Regions from separate parts of the Homo sapiens genome. Here regions 1, 2 and 4 are each linked to region 3. Evidence: promoter capture Hi-C in 16 types of primary human blood cells and fetal thymus (Javierre and others, 2016). All regions are on one chromosome and are shown on one strand. Each heading gives the region's core, a stretch centred on a gene start or on the middle of the fragment in contact. The rest is flanking DNA. Distances are from core to core; before and after follow the strand shown. Region 1 overlaps KIRREL3 (kirre like nephrin family adhesion molecule 3). Region 2 overlaps KIRREL3 (kirre like nephrin family adhesion molecule 3). Region 3 holds the start of KIRREL3 (kirre like nephrin family adhesion molecule 3). Region 4 overlaps KIRREL3 (kirre like nephrin family adhesion molecule 3).

Region 1 (2,818 bases), core at 77-2,576, 490 kb after region 3:
TTGGGAAGCAAGGTGTTGGGACATCCAGGGCAGGGAGGAAATGGTACCAAGGATTTGATCAACAAATGTTTACTGAGCACCTGTTATATGCCAAGCACTAGTCTAGACACGTGGGATTCATCAGGAAACGAAAGAGAAAACCATCCTTGCCCTGGTGGAGCTTGCATTCTGGCAGAGAGAAGGCGGTCGATAAGTGATGCACGGATTAAACCATAAATTGCATTGCTGTACAGGATGTGAGGTGGTAATAAATGCTACGGAAAGGAAAAAGTAGAGCAGGATGGGGGGATCAGAAGTGGGAGGAGGGGATGTTGGCATCAGATTAATTATTAAGAGGGGCATTTTTCCCAGTCTCCCTCCTCATTTCCCTCTTCTTCCTGGCCCGTTCTAATATTAACTCTGCTGTCTTGTGGCTCCCGTTAGAAATAAAGCTTCCTAAATCAACATGAATTATTTAAGAGGGAGACTAAGTCAATTCAAATAAAGAGGGCATCTTTTTAAATGATGTCAAGCCCCAAATACTGAGAGAGGAAAACAGATAAGGTCCAATCTGTGACGTGTCCTTAACTAGTTTGTTTTTCAAAACCACAAGCTCCCTTTGCCACAGCTCTACCAGCAGAGCTGCAGGGCCTCCTCAGCCCACCGCGTTGGCAGCCTCCCCCAATCTCCCATCCATGAATCTTCTGGGGAGATGGGTCCAGAGAACAGTGGTGAATAACTCAGAGTCTGCCAGCAAAGGAAGGCAGAGCTGGAACAGACCTCGAGGGTGCTGGCTTCTAAACCATTCTTCCAGAAACTGGTTGCAAGAAACCCATCCATAGTCACCCTGACATAAAAAGGCAAATCAGTAGGTGACAGTCTGAGGGGTTCTTCAGGGGCGAGAAAGTGTCCCCACAGAACAAAACCCAAGCTCCCTGCCAGGCCACACAAGGCCCCCCGAGGCCAGCCCCCAGCTGTGTCCCCAGCCTCAGACCCACCGCCAACCTGCTCCCGCACTAACAAGCAGCTGGCATCTCCTTCCGCTCACCAAGCCTCTGGGCCCTCATTCACACTGTGTTTCTTCCTGGAGTGCCCTTCCTACCTTTCTTCCCTTGGCTAACTTGTGTTCAGCTGTCAAGATTCACCTCAGACAACTCCTCCTCCAGGAAGCCTTCTCTGGAGCCCACATGGCCTGACTGTCCCCCTGTGGTCCTTTTCACTTCCTTAGGCATCTTTTTTTTGAGTCAGGGTCTTGCTCTGTCATCCAGACTGAAGTGCAGTGGCACTATTATGGCTCACTGCAGCCTCGACCTCCCTGGCTCAAGCGATCCTCCCACCTCAGCCTCCCGAGTAGCTGAGACCACAGGCATGCACCACCTCACCCAGCTAATTTTTGTTTGTTTGTTTTTTTGTTTTGTTCTGTTTTGTTTTTGTAGAGACCGGGTTTTGCCATGTTGCTAATGCTTGTCTTGAACTTCTGGGCTCAAGGGATCCACCCAACTCAGCCTCCTAAAATGCTGAGATTACAGGCGTGAGCCATCGCGCCCAGCCTCCTTATGCACCTTGATTACAGGTCTCGACACGCTATGTTGAGAGTAACTGTTTTCATGTCTGTTTCCCCCACCGGGTCTCCTGGGAGCATCTTTCATCCTTCATGCCTAGCACAGCCTAGAATCACATACTGGGTGTTCAGTAAATGTTCCTCATGGCAATTGAAATAACAAGGCTTAGGGAAAATTTAGGGGGAGTTTACACTGAATCTGACGACAGAGAACAGAGTCTGGCAGATAGTAAGCCCCAAACACGGATGACAATTGTGTTTTGTTGTGTTGTGTTGTGTTGTGTTGTGTTGTGTTGTGTTGTGTTGTGTTGTGTTGGAGAGGCAATGTGGCTAAGCGCCTGGCCTCTGGAAGCCAGATTGCCCGCACTTGAAACCTAGCTGTATCATTTTGCCACTGGTGTGACCGTGAGCAAGTTATTTAACCACTCTGTGCCTGTTTCTTTCTGTGTAAAATGAGGGAAATAATCATAACTGCTTTCATGGGGTTGAAGAGAGGATTTAATGAAATAATATATGTAAAACATGTCTCAGAATAGCGCCTGTTATGCAGCAAGGCATAGCAGCATTGGCTGCTAGTATTATAACTGTTTTCATCATTGCTATTATTGCACAATGTTATGAGACACCAACAAGCAACCCCTGCATCCCGGGGGATCAGACTTTGCTTCCTAGAGAAGCTTTCCCATGTATCAAGCAAGGCAGGAAGATATGATTCCTGCAGGCCCCTCCCAGCAGGCTGCACACCTGGGAAGAAAGGCAGAATTGATTTCCTTATCTGCTTATTAAGCGTGTTTTGCCTGGGCCCTGGCCTGGTCTTAGTGCCGTATCTCATTTGTGCTATGTGGCTGTTTCCTGCAACATTCATTACCCTGCAATCACCCCCAAATAGCGGTAGCAAACGAGCCAGAGACGGAAGACAGGAGCAGAAAACATCCTTATCTCCTGAGGTTCCACATGGGAGCTGTGTCGGAGCTATTGTACATCTCGCTCCCCCTACACACACCCCACCCCTGCCACCAGCTCGCTCCCAGCTCCCTTCCTGGTAGCCCAGACTACCCCCATGTCCCCTGGGCCAGAAGCAGATTCCCCTCCTCTTTCTCCCTTTGGCCACTGACACCACCTTAGCCTCCCATCTAACTCGGAGCTCACCTGCTGGGCAGGTGATAAAGTGAGCAGAGCTGGGGGCCATGAAGGGTATCTGAGGCTGACATATAGTCTCTCACCTCTAAGTTATATTATAGCTCCCTGAGGTCCACCCTGTGGGTTCAATGCCATAAT
Region 2 (2,700 bases), core at 43-2,542, 370 kb after region 3:
ACACAACTAGCTCAAAAAGGAAATAACAATAATAGTCCACATTTATTGAATGCTTAGCACATGCCATGCCCTGGGTATGCCATAAGTATCCATTATTTTATAATGCTAAGGATAGTGCTATTACCCTTCCCATTTTTACAAATGAAGGAACTAAAATTCAAAATTCTATATGACTTCCCCAAGGTCCTAAAAATAGTAAGTGGCAGAGTTGTGAGGTAGCCCCATCTCTGTCACTCTAAGGGGGCTGGTCTTCAGAGCAGACTTTGACTCAGGGGCATTCAAGTCTTACAGGAATCACGTCGCTTCCTCCACTGATCCCTCCCGCTACCTGTAGGCCTGCTGGCCCTGCCCATGACCCAAAAATAACCAAGTTGTTCCCTAGAATGGTTTGTTATTTTCATATTGGGAATGAGAAACAAAGAGGATGTCTTGAGGGAGAAGGACAGGGTGTCTCATTCATGGGACACACTCTGCCTTTTACCTGGTATTTTTATACCAATCGCCTCTTCAGATTACCACAACAATTCTTCAGATCAGTAGAACAGGTATTCCCAGCCACATTTTACAGATAAGGAAGCTGAGGCCTCAAGAGCTTTGATGACGTGAGCAGATATCCAGCTGGGGTCAAAGCCACATCTTAGTCTAGGTGTGTCTGACTTGTGGCCCAAGATCTCTGGTTACTCTGGGCTGGCAGGGGGGCTCGTTGCTGGGGGTGTACAATGGGAACCCAGCATCCAGCCTTCTCCTCCCTCCCTATCTCCTCCTCCAGGCCATCAGCCACTGTTCAGCCTTCTGTCCAACTCTCCCATGGCTCAGAAGCCCAGAGGTGCTGAGGGCCTTGGAGCCAGCCAACCAGCCCAGCCCTTTTAATGAGGAAGCTTCTCTGCTCCCTCCAATCCATAACATAACCCTGAGGTCTAACCTCTGTATATATCACTCACCTATGTGGGACCAGGGAGGAAAAACATGGAGACCGTGATTTGCTCTGGACTGGGAGGGGTTACCTTCTGCCTTGGAGGGAAGCACCTGGCACCCCCCATGAGTGGATTTAGAAGGGAAGCCTCTCTGCAGTAAGCAATGCCCACACTTGCTGTGCCTGCCTAGAGGTGGAGCTGTCCAGCCCTGCCTCACTGCAGACCCTTTTGTTGGGTTCAAGGTTCAATCCTGCTCATTGAGCAAAAGGTCAATCCTTAAAAGAAAAAGTGTTCTTTGTGCTCATTCTCAGACTATATTACTCCTGATCGAGGAGAAGTTTAGGGGCAAGAAGAGCCCAGAAGCTGGAACTGTCCCCACTTGCTGAGTGGAGCAACTGTAGACCAGAGCTGTGAGAAGTGCTGTGCTGCTTTCTTCCCTGGGTGCATATACCCTCCCTCCACACTTCCCTAGTGCAATCAGTCCCCTTGAAGACAGGAGAGGCAGTGAGGCTTAGTGGAAAGAGCACCAGCAAGGGCCTCCGAGAGGGCGCAGACCTGTAGCCTAGGACCGAGGATGGATATTTGCAGGAATTTGATTCTTTACTGAGCAGGGAGCAAGTATTCTAGGCTAGGGGGCAATGGAGTGCAAGAGCTTGGTGAGAGAGGACTGCATTCCACCCGATGCACTCTTTGCCAGGTGCACACAGCAGGTACAAGGGACCTGGTTCCCTTTAAGTCTTTTTTGAGAAAAAAGGCAAACCTTAAACCCTGAGGACCCAAGAGTCAAGCTTCATTTCCCCTGCAAAGCTCCCCGCAAGCCTCTCCAGCCCAAGTGGCGCCTCCACTCAAATCTACAGAGACTTGTTCCGAGTCCATTAGCTGCTACACCTTGATCAGGTCCAGAAGGGTCCCAGGCACCACGAGAGAGGGTAGATGTTAGCCTGGGGGGCTGAAAACTATGGTATTGTGATGAGCACAGGCTCCTGGCTCTCACTGGCCAGCGGTACAATACAGGGAACAATGGCACCTTCCACATTCAATTATTGTGAAGACTGCATGAATGCATGGAAAGTGCATGTCATAGGGTCCGGCACAAAGTAGATGCTCAGCTGTTAGCTCTTGCTGCTCTCACTGTTCAGGGAAAGTAGAGTAGGGTCTGATTCCACCTTACTCAGAGCCTTCGGTACCGGTGAACAGAGCAATACAGACAACACACCCAGTCTGCATGTAAATTGGCCTTCGACACTGGATCACCCCAGAAAAAGAGAACGTGTTCCCTTCCAACTGGAGCTTTGGAGGAAGCTAAGCCAGATTACCACACCTGACCCCCAGAGCAGGAGGGAAGGATGCCCCAGTGCACTCAGGTCTCATTCATGTGGACTACGCTGTACTTTCTGAAGAGGTGGAAGGAGGTAAGAAATACTGTATGAAGAGGGACATTGCAGTGGGAACATGACTAAACCATGTGAACAAAATCTCTGTTACTTATGCTCTTCCTGTTCTTTTCATGTCTACACTGTAGATACGTTGCCAGTACCTGTGGTTCTGCCTAAATAAACATACTTGCTGGTACAAAAACATACACTGATGGATGATGGAAAAGGAAGACAAGACAGTGTTTTTCTTAGACCCTTTTCATTGCTGTAAAGGAATACTGGAGGCTGGGTAATTTGTAAAGAAAAGAGATCTAATTGGCTCATGGTTATGTAGGGTGTGCAAGAAGCATTGTGCCAGCATTTTCTTTTGGTGAGGGCTTCAGGAATCTTCCGCTCATGGCAGAAGGGGA
Region 3 (2,700 bases), core at 123-2,622:
ATACCAAGGGATAATTTTTTAAAGTTAACATCCGCATGGAAACTTGGAGTTGGAATGTGCCTTGTAGTGAGCAGAGTCCTCAAAAGATGTGCTACTACTGAAAGAGGAAAGGCTAAGAGTTTCCCAAAAGACCTCCCCAAGGTCCAGGGACTGAAGACAGTAATGACTGATTTTAGAATTGAATGCTAAATGGCACATGTCAGGGGAGCGTCTTTCATTTTCCTCTCCTCTCTCTTTACCTCTCCTTCTCACAGTGCATAACGTTGAATATTTTTCTGTGTTGTTTTGTTATGTCCTTAGAGTTTGCATCTTGTGTGTGTACTCTGCTTGCACACTAGATTATGAGCTTCTGAAGGCATGGTCTGTGCCTATTATTTTGCTTCCCTCCATGGCCTGCTTATACCAAGCATGCCTAAATGTCTATTAAGTAAATAGACCCAGATAAATTCATGTTGATATCCTGGAGGAAACCGAGTTTGATTTGAGTGTGGAGTGTGAATTTCATGACAGGTAAAAGGCTTGAAGATCCTTAGGACGCAGTTGTCTATGACCTTGGCCTCTCCTTTGCAATTGGACTCACAGCACCTCTTGGAGAAAAGACAGGCTCAGAGTGATGGAGCGCTCATTAGAGGAGAGGCTCTGAATGCAAAGACAGGCTGCTCCCCTGTCCTCGTTAGGAAATGCACAAACCAGGATAATGATAATAAATGGGTGTGTGTCACAAGCCTACTTGCCTTCCCTTTAGTTCCTGCATTTTGTCTTCCAGGAGCAGTGCAAAGCAAACTAAGATCCAAATGTTCAGGTTTTATTACCTACCCCCCCCCCCCACCACAACCACCCACCCACCCACAGGAAACTCTCAGAAATGCAAAGCATGCTTATCTCTTCTCCAACTCCGAGCCTCCCGCTGCACACATTGGCCAAGTCCTTCCGAGGGAAAGATGCGCACCCCCCCTTCCTAGTTCCCTTTCAGCCCAGTTTCCAGTTCCTTTGCAAAGGCAGGGCGTGCATGTTTTTGTGCACATGCATGTGGATAGTCATCCTTAACTTCACTGTTAAACAGGACATCGTGTGGACAAAAAGTCACAGCTCCACTCCAAGCTCAAGATGCCTTTTGGTCAATAATGGTGACAAAAGCTGAATTTTTCCCTATTTAGGGAAAAGAAAGAACACAGCCTTTTCCCCCACTGTCCGTTTTGCATAGATCTCCTTTTTCCGAGTGTTTCCTCTTTAATTATGACCTGTCTCCCCTCCCTCTCCCCTCGCCTCAGCTTCAGTGAAAGGAGTCCTTCTGTCACTCGTCACTAGCTCGCTCGCTCACTGTGGGAGGAGCCCGCCTGAGGAAGCCGTGTGCCTGGGATGCCAAGAGCCAGAGAATGGATCTTCTCCGAGTGGGGACATTGCTGACAATCCCGGCTTCCCGAGGCGGCTAAGAACAGGCAGTTTGTGTCGGCTGGCTGCAGATACCCAGAGGCACAAAGAGACCGAAGCCACCCGGAGGGACCCACGGACGGACAGATGGTAGGCGCGAACCCGAGAGGACCGGCGGAGGCTGAGCACCGAGAGCCGCCAAGGAAGAGAAACTAACCACAGCCAAGTTACCCCGCCGGCTTTCCTTCGCTGCGCTAAGGAATGAAACCCTTCCAGCTCGATCTGCTCTTCGTCTGCTTCTTCCTCTTCAGTCAAGGTAGGACCCCTGCGCTGCTGGAGTTGGAAGAAAGTCGGCTGGGTTGTCAGGGCGCGGGAGGCTGTGGGCAGGAACGTGGGCAGGCTTCGGGAACTCGGACTGATGGATGCGTCTCTCGGTGCCGGGCTGAGATGCTCTGGCATTGCCTCTTCGCCTTTGCGAATGCAACAAAATGGTACTGTTTATTTTCCTTTGGAAAGAAGGGGTATGGGAGGGGAGGGGAATGACTTTCTCCTCTCACTTGTCAATATCCAGCTCAAACTCTCCAATGCAAATGAGTTCTTTATGCTTCTGGTATGTTAATTAGGTAGTATCTCTGTGGTTATGCCGCTCTGAACTTCTGGGCACCTCCTCTCCTTCAGACCCAGGCCAGGGAAGGAGACGGCAGGGAGGGAGAGCTTGGTTTAGGTGGATATTTCAGCTTGAATAGGGTTTGACTTGCACAAGTGTATTCAAAAGCGAATGTGTGTGGTTTGCACCGTTGAAAAGGGGGTTGCAATTACAGAATGTATTGTGGGGGGTAATTTGCAGTGGTTGGGAAAAGCTTGTAAAGAGTTTCATTGAACGTCATCGAGTTCCCTAAATTAGGTTGAATTCTGAATCCTACACAGCACTGAATTCAGGGTATAAAATGAAATTTCGCCCGTGGTGCTGATGGTTTCCTTTCTGCAGCCTAGCAGGGGCAGAGAAGCAGGTGGACTCTCCGGAAAGAACTTTGCCACCTCTAGGCTCCTTGCCACTGGGAGCCCTGGGGCTGGTAGTGGTGCAGAAAGGAGAGGGAAATTCGGGAGAGGGAATGTGAGTGCCTAGTTGGCCAAAGGCATCAAAAGTCACCTGTGGAATTGAGTTTGGAGGGGCAAGTACATGGGCTCCTTCCCGCTCTTTTGGAATGCCAATGCACCTCTGCCATCTGAGGCTGCATTTGTGCCAGCCAACACAGCTCTTAGAGGTGCAAGACTCAGAAAAAATCCACAACAGAGCACGTCCATCTGTTGATTAAATGAAGGGTAAAA
Region 4 (2,700 bases), core at 176-2,675, 270 kb after region 3:
ACAATGGGAGGGCAAGCCCTTTGAGTCCCAAACAAGACACTTAAGCATTATTCTTTAACTTCAGTCCAGCCTCTTGCTATCTCCTTTGCTTGGTTTTCTGGTAAGATAAGGGGTTCCCCCTGGCCTTTTCCACTCTGCAGTGCTCTGGGGTTAGATCCCAAATTCTCCTTGGAGTCTCCTTGGGCATAAGCTTCCTCTCAGCATTACGAGGTTACCTTCCTCAAAGTGTCTTTTCTCCATGTTTTCTCAGATGGCCACCAACCCAGAGATGGTGTCCTGGTTCAGAGCCAGGCTGCCCAAGTCAACTCCAGAGAGCAGGAATTCAAAGGAAACAGTCACTCTCTCACTGTCTCTCTGCAGCTGACTACACTTTCCCGAGACAAGCAGGTATATTGGATTGGCTGTTGTTATGAGCTGTTTAGTCCTAACTTGCTTAGTAGAAAACGTCATCTAGTCCAGTTGACCAGAGAGCGCTAGGGTTTTGATCACAAGTCCAGCTAACAATGAAGCATTGCTTTGCTTTCCTTTCTTTGTGTGCTTACTATATTTTCTCAGGGGTCCTCATGAGAAGGGGTGGCTATTTCAAGGACAGAATCTGGCCATTCCTGCATCCTCGGGCTCAATACAATAATTCATCAAATGATGTATACATTTGTATTATAAACTGCGGAATCATTATGAAATCACTGTATTGTTAATAATAGTTTCCTATTAATTACTCTATCGCTCTAGCCATTACTTATAAACCTCCTTCCTAAATCTCTGGCTCAGATTGCCATTCCTGTAGGAATCCTTAGTCTCCAAATGGAGCAGATTGTAAAGACCCCAGGCAGGGCAGCAAGGAGGTGAGATTAATGAGACACCCCTCCCCCATTCCTGGCACTCGCTGGAAACCAGCAGAGAAGCCAGTGAGGTCCCACCCTTCCTGCAGTGATTTCCTTCACCCTCTGGCAGTGACTTCTCTCTCTCTTTGCTGCTGGGGGCACAGTCCTCAGCTGCTTCCTCAAAGAGCTGCCTGCATCAAAGTAGCTACTATTTCCAGCGTCTTTCTTTTACAATCCTTTTTGTTCCTTGCTTTTGATCCAGCATATGCTGGGGGGCCAAGCTTTTGTCTTTCAGCTTGTGAATAAATGGAAGCACTTACGGAGGCAGCAGCCACCACATGTGATTAGTTTCTTGTTGTTCTCTAACTGGGAGCCAGATGGATCAAGTAGCTCAGGACCTAAAACTGACCTACTTAGAGCCATCAGGTCTGATGAGGTGAGCATAGCTTGGGAGTCCAAAGACCTGAATGCCAGTCCTAGTCCTTCCAGCAACGAGGTGTGCAAATTTTGGCAAAGCTTTCTTCCTGTGTGCATTCACTCACCAGACATGGCGCTAGGCATTGGGTCTGTAAAGATAAATAAAATCACATCTGTGACCTCAAGAAGACTGCAGAAAGAGAAATGTGAAAGGTAGACATGAGAATACGTACAAGCTGTGGTAGAAGCATAGCCAAGAGAAAGCTTTGTCCAGGAAATGGTATTCGGGCTGAGTCTTGAAGGACTAAGTAAGCTCTGACCCAATGCAAACAGTGGACACAGCGGGATGGACCCTGGGATAGGGTCATTTGAGACCTAGGCAGTGGCCCAGAGGTATGGAAGAACATGATTTACTCAGAGAACGGCAGATTATCTAGTACTGCTGGGGCATGGACTAACAGGAGAAATGGAAGGTGGGTCTGGAGAGTTGGGCAGGGCCAGATCATAGGGAGCTTTGTAAACTATGCTGAGAAGTTAGGAAATGGAGACATGCAGACAGATTCATTTGTAAGCTAAGCATTCTCGCAGGAGGCAGCAAAGAGAGTGGCTTGAAGGGGAACCTGATTGTCAGAGACACCAGTTAGAAAAGTATTGCATGTTGGCTGGGCGCGGTGGCTCACGCCTGTAATCCCAGCACTTTGGGAGGCCGAGACGGGTGGATCACGAGGTCAGGAGATGGAGACCATCCTGCCTAACACAGTGAAACCCCATCTCTACTAAAAATATAAAAAAATTAGCCAGGCGTGGTGGCAGGTGCCTGTAGTCCCAGCTACTCGGGAGGCTGAGGCAGGAGAATGGCGTGAACCTGGGAGGCGGAGGTTGCAGTGAGCCGAGATGGCACCACTGCACTCCAGCCTGGGTGACAGAGCAAGACTCAATCTCAAAAACAAAAAAAAAGAAAAAGAAAAGTATTGCATGTTGTAAGCCAGGTTTTCTTTACCTGGGGACTACCGCCATTTTGGTTCTTGGTTGCAGGGGCCGCCTGGTGCATTGTATCGTGTTCAGCTCCATCCCTGGCCTCTACCCACTTGATGCTAGTAGCAACCACTTCGTTGTGACCATCAGAAATTGTCCCTGGACGTTGCCAAATGTCCCCTAGGTGGGGAAGACAAAAATCACCCATGGTGGAGAACCACCAGTCTAAGCAAACTTATGTAGTATGGAATAAGCTCAGAGCTGCGAGAATGGGCACAGGTTGAAGATACCTGTAGGAGTCAGGTTGAGAGGAAGGCATGATTGACCAGACGTATAGGGTGAGGAGAGGGTGGAGGCCAGGATTGTTCCCTGATTTCTGGTGGACAATTAGGGGATGTTGATGGTGCAGAGATGATGAGAAGAGGGAGGAGAAGGTGAGTAACTCATTTGGACGTGTCACACTCAAGGGGCCTGTGGGCCCCCA

Evidence for each region. Contacts are between HindIII fragments. The CHiCAGO score rates a contact against its expected background, and 5 or more counts as called.
Region 1: a fragment that was not itself captured here is called in contact with the fragment with the promoter of KIRREL3 in region 3 in 4 of 17 cell types (fetal thymus, monocytes, endothelial precursors and 1 more); the score reaches 6.3 in fetal thymus.
Region 2: a contact is called between a fragment that was not itself captured here and the fragment with the promoter of KIRREL3 in region 3, in 1 of 17 cell types (fetal thymus). The highest score is 5.3, in fetal thymus.
Region 4: a fragment that was not itself captured here is called in contact with the fragment with the promoter of KIRREL3 in region 3 in 3 of 17 cell types (megakaryocytes, fetal thymus and M1 macrophages); the score reaches 7.5 in megakaryocytes.

What each region holds. Positions count from the first base shown.
Region 1 is chr11:126,513,852-126,516,669 of GRCh38, reverse strand. All of the region lies in intron 4 of KIRREL3 (kirre like nephrin family adhesion molecule 3), which reads left to right. Among named protein-coding and RNA genes, the nearest start is that of KIRREL3-AS1, 29 kb to the left of the region's middle. The HindIII fragment of the contact is 1,786 bases long and covers 434-2,219 here.
Region 2 is chr11:126,633,590-126,636,289 of GRCh38, reverse strand. All of the region lies in intron 1 of KIRREL3 (kirre like nephrin family adhesion molecule 3), which reads left to right. Among named protein-coding and RNA genes, the nearest start is that of KIRREL3-AS4, 18 kb to the left of the region's middle. The HindIII fragment of the contact is 824 bases long and covers 881-1,704 here.
Region 3 is chr11:126,999,442-127,002,141 of GRCh38, reverse strand. KIRREL3 (kirre like nephrin family adhesion molecule 3) reads left to right here and starts at 1,372. Exons shown (of 17, transcript NM_032531.4): 1 at 1,372-1,687. The coding sequence starts at 1,633. The HindIII fragment of the contact is 3,223 bases long and covers 1-2,233 here.
Region 4 is chr11:126,730,240-126,732,939 of GRCh38, reverse strand. The region is part of intron 1 of KIRREL3 (kirre like nephrin family adhesion molecule 3); the gene reads left to right. It overlaps LOC105369561 (a long non-coding RNA gene), which reads right to left. Exons shown (of 3, transcript XR_007062941.1): 3 at 2,324-2,396. Among named protein-coding and RNA genes, the nearest start is that of KIRREL3-AS4, 79 kb to the right of the region's middle. RefSeq lists enhancers at 37-86, 830-1,365. The HindIII fragment of the contact is 165 bases long and covers 1,343-1,507 here.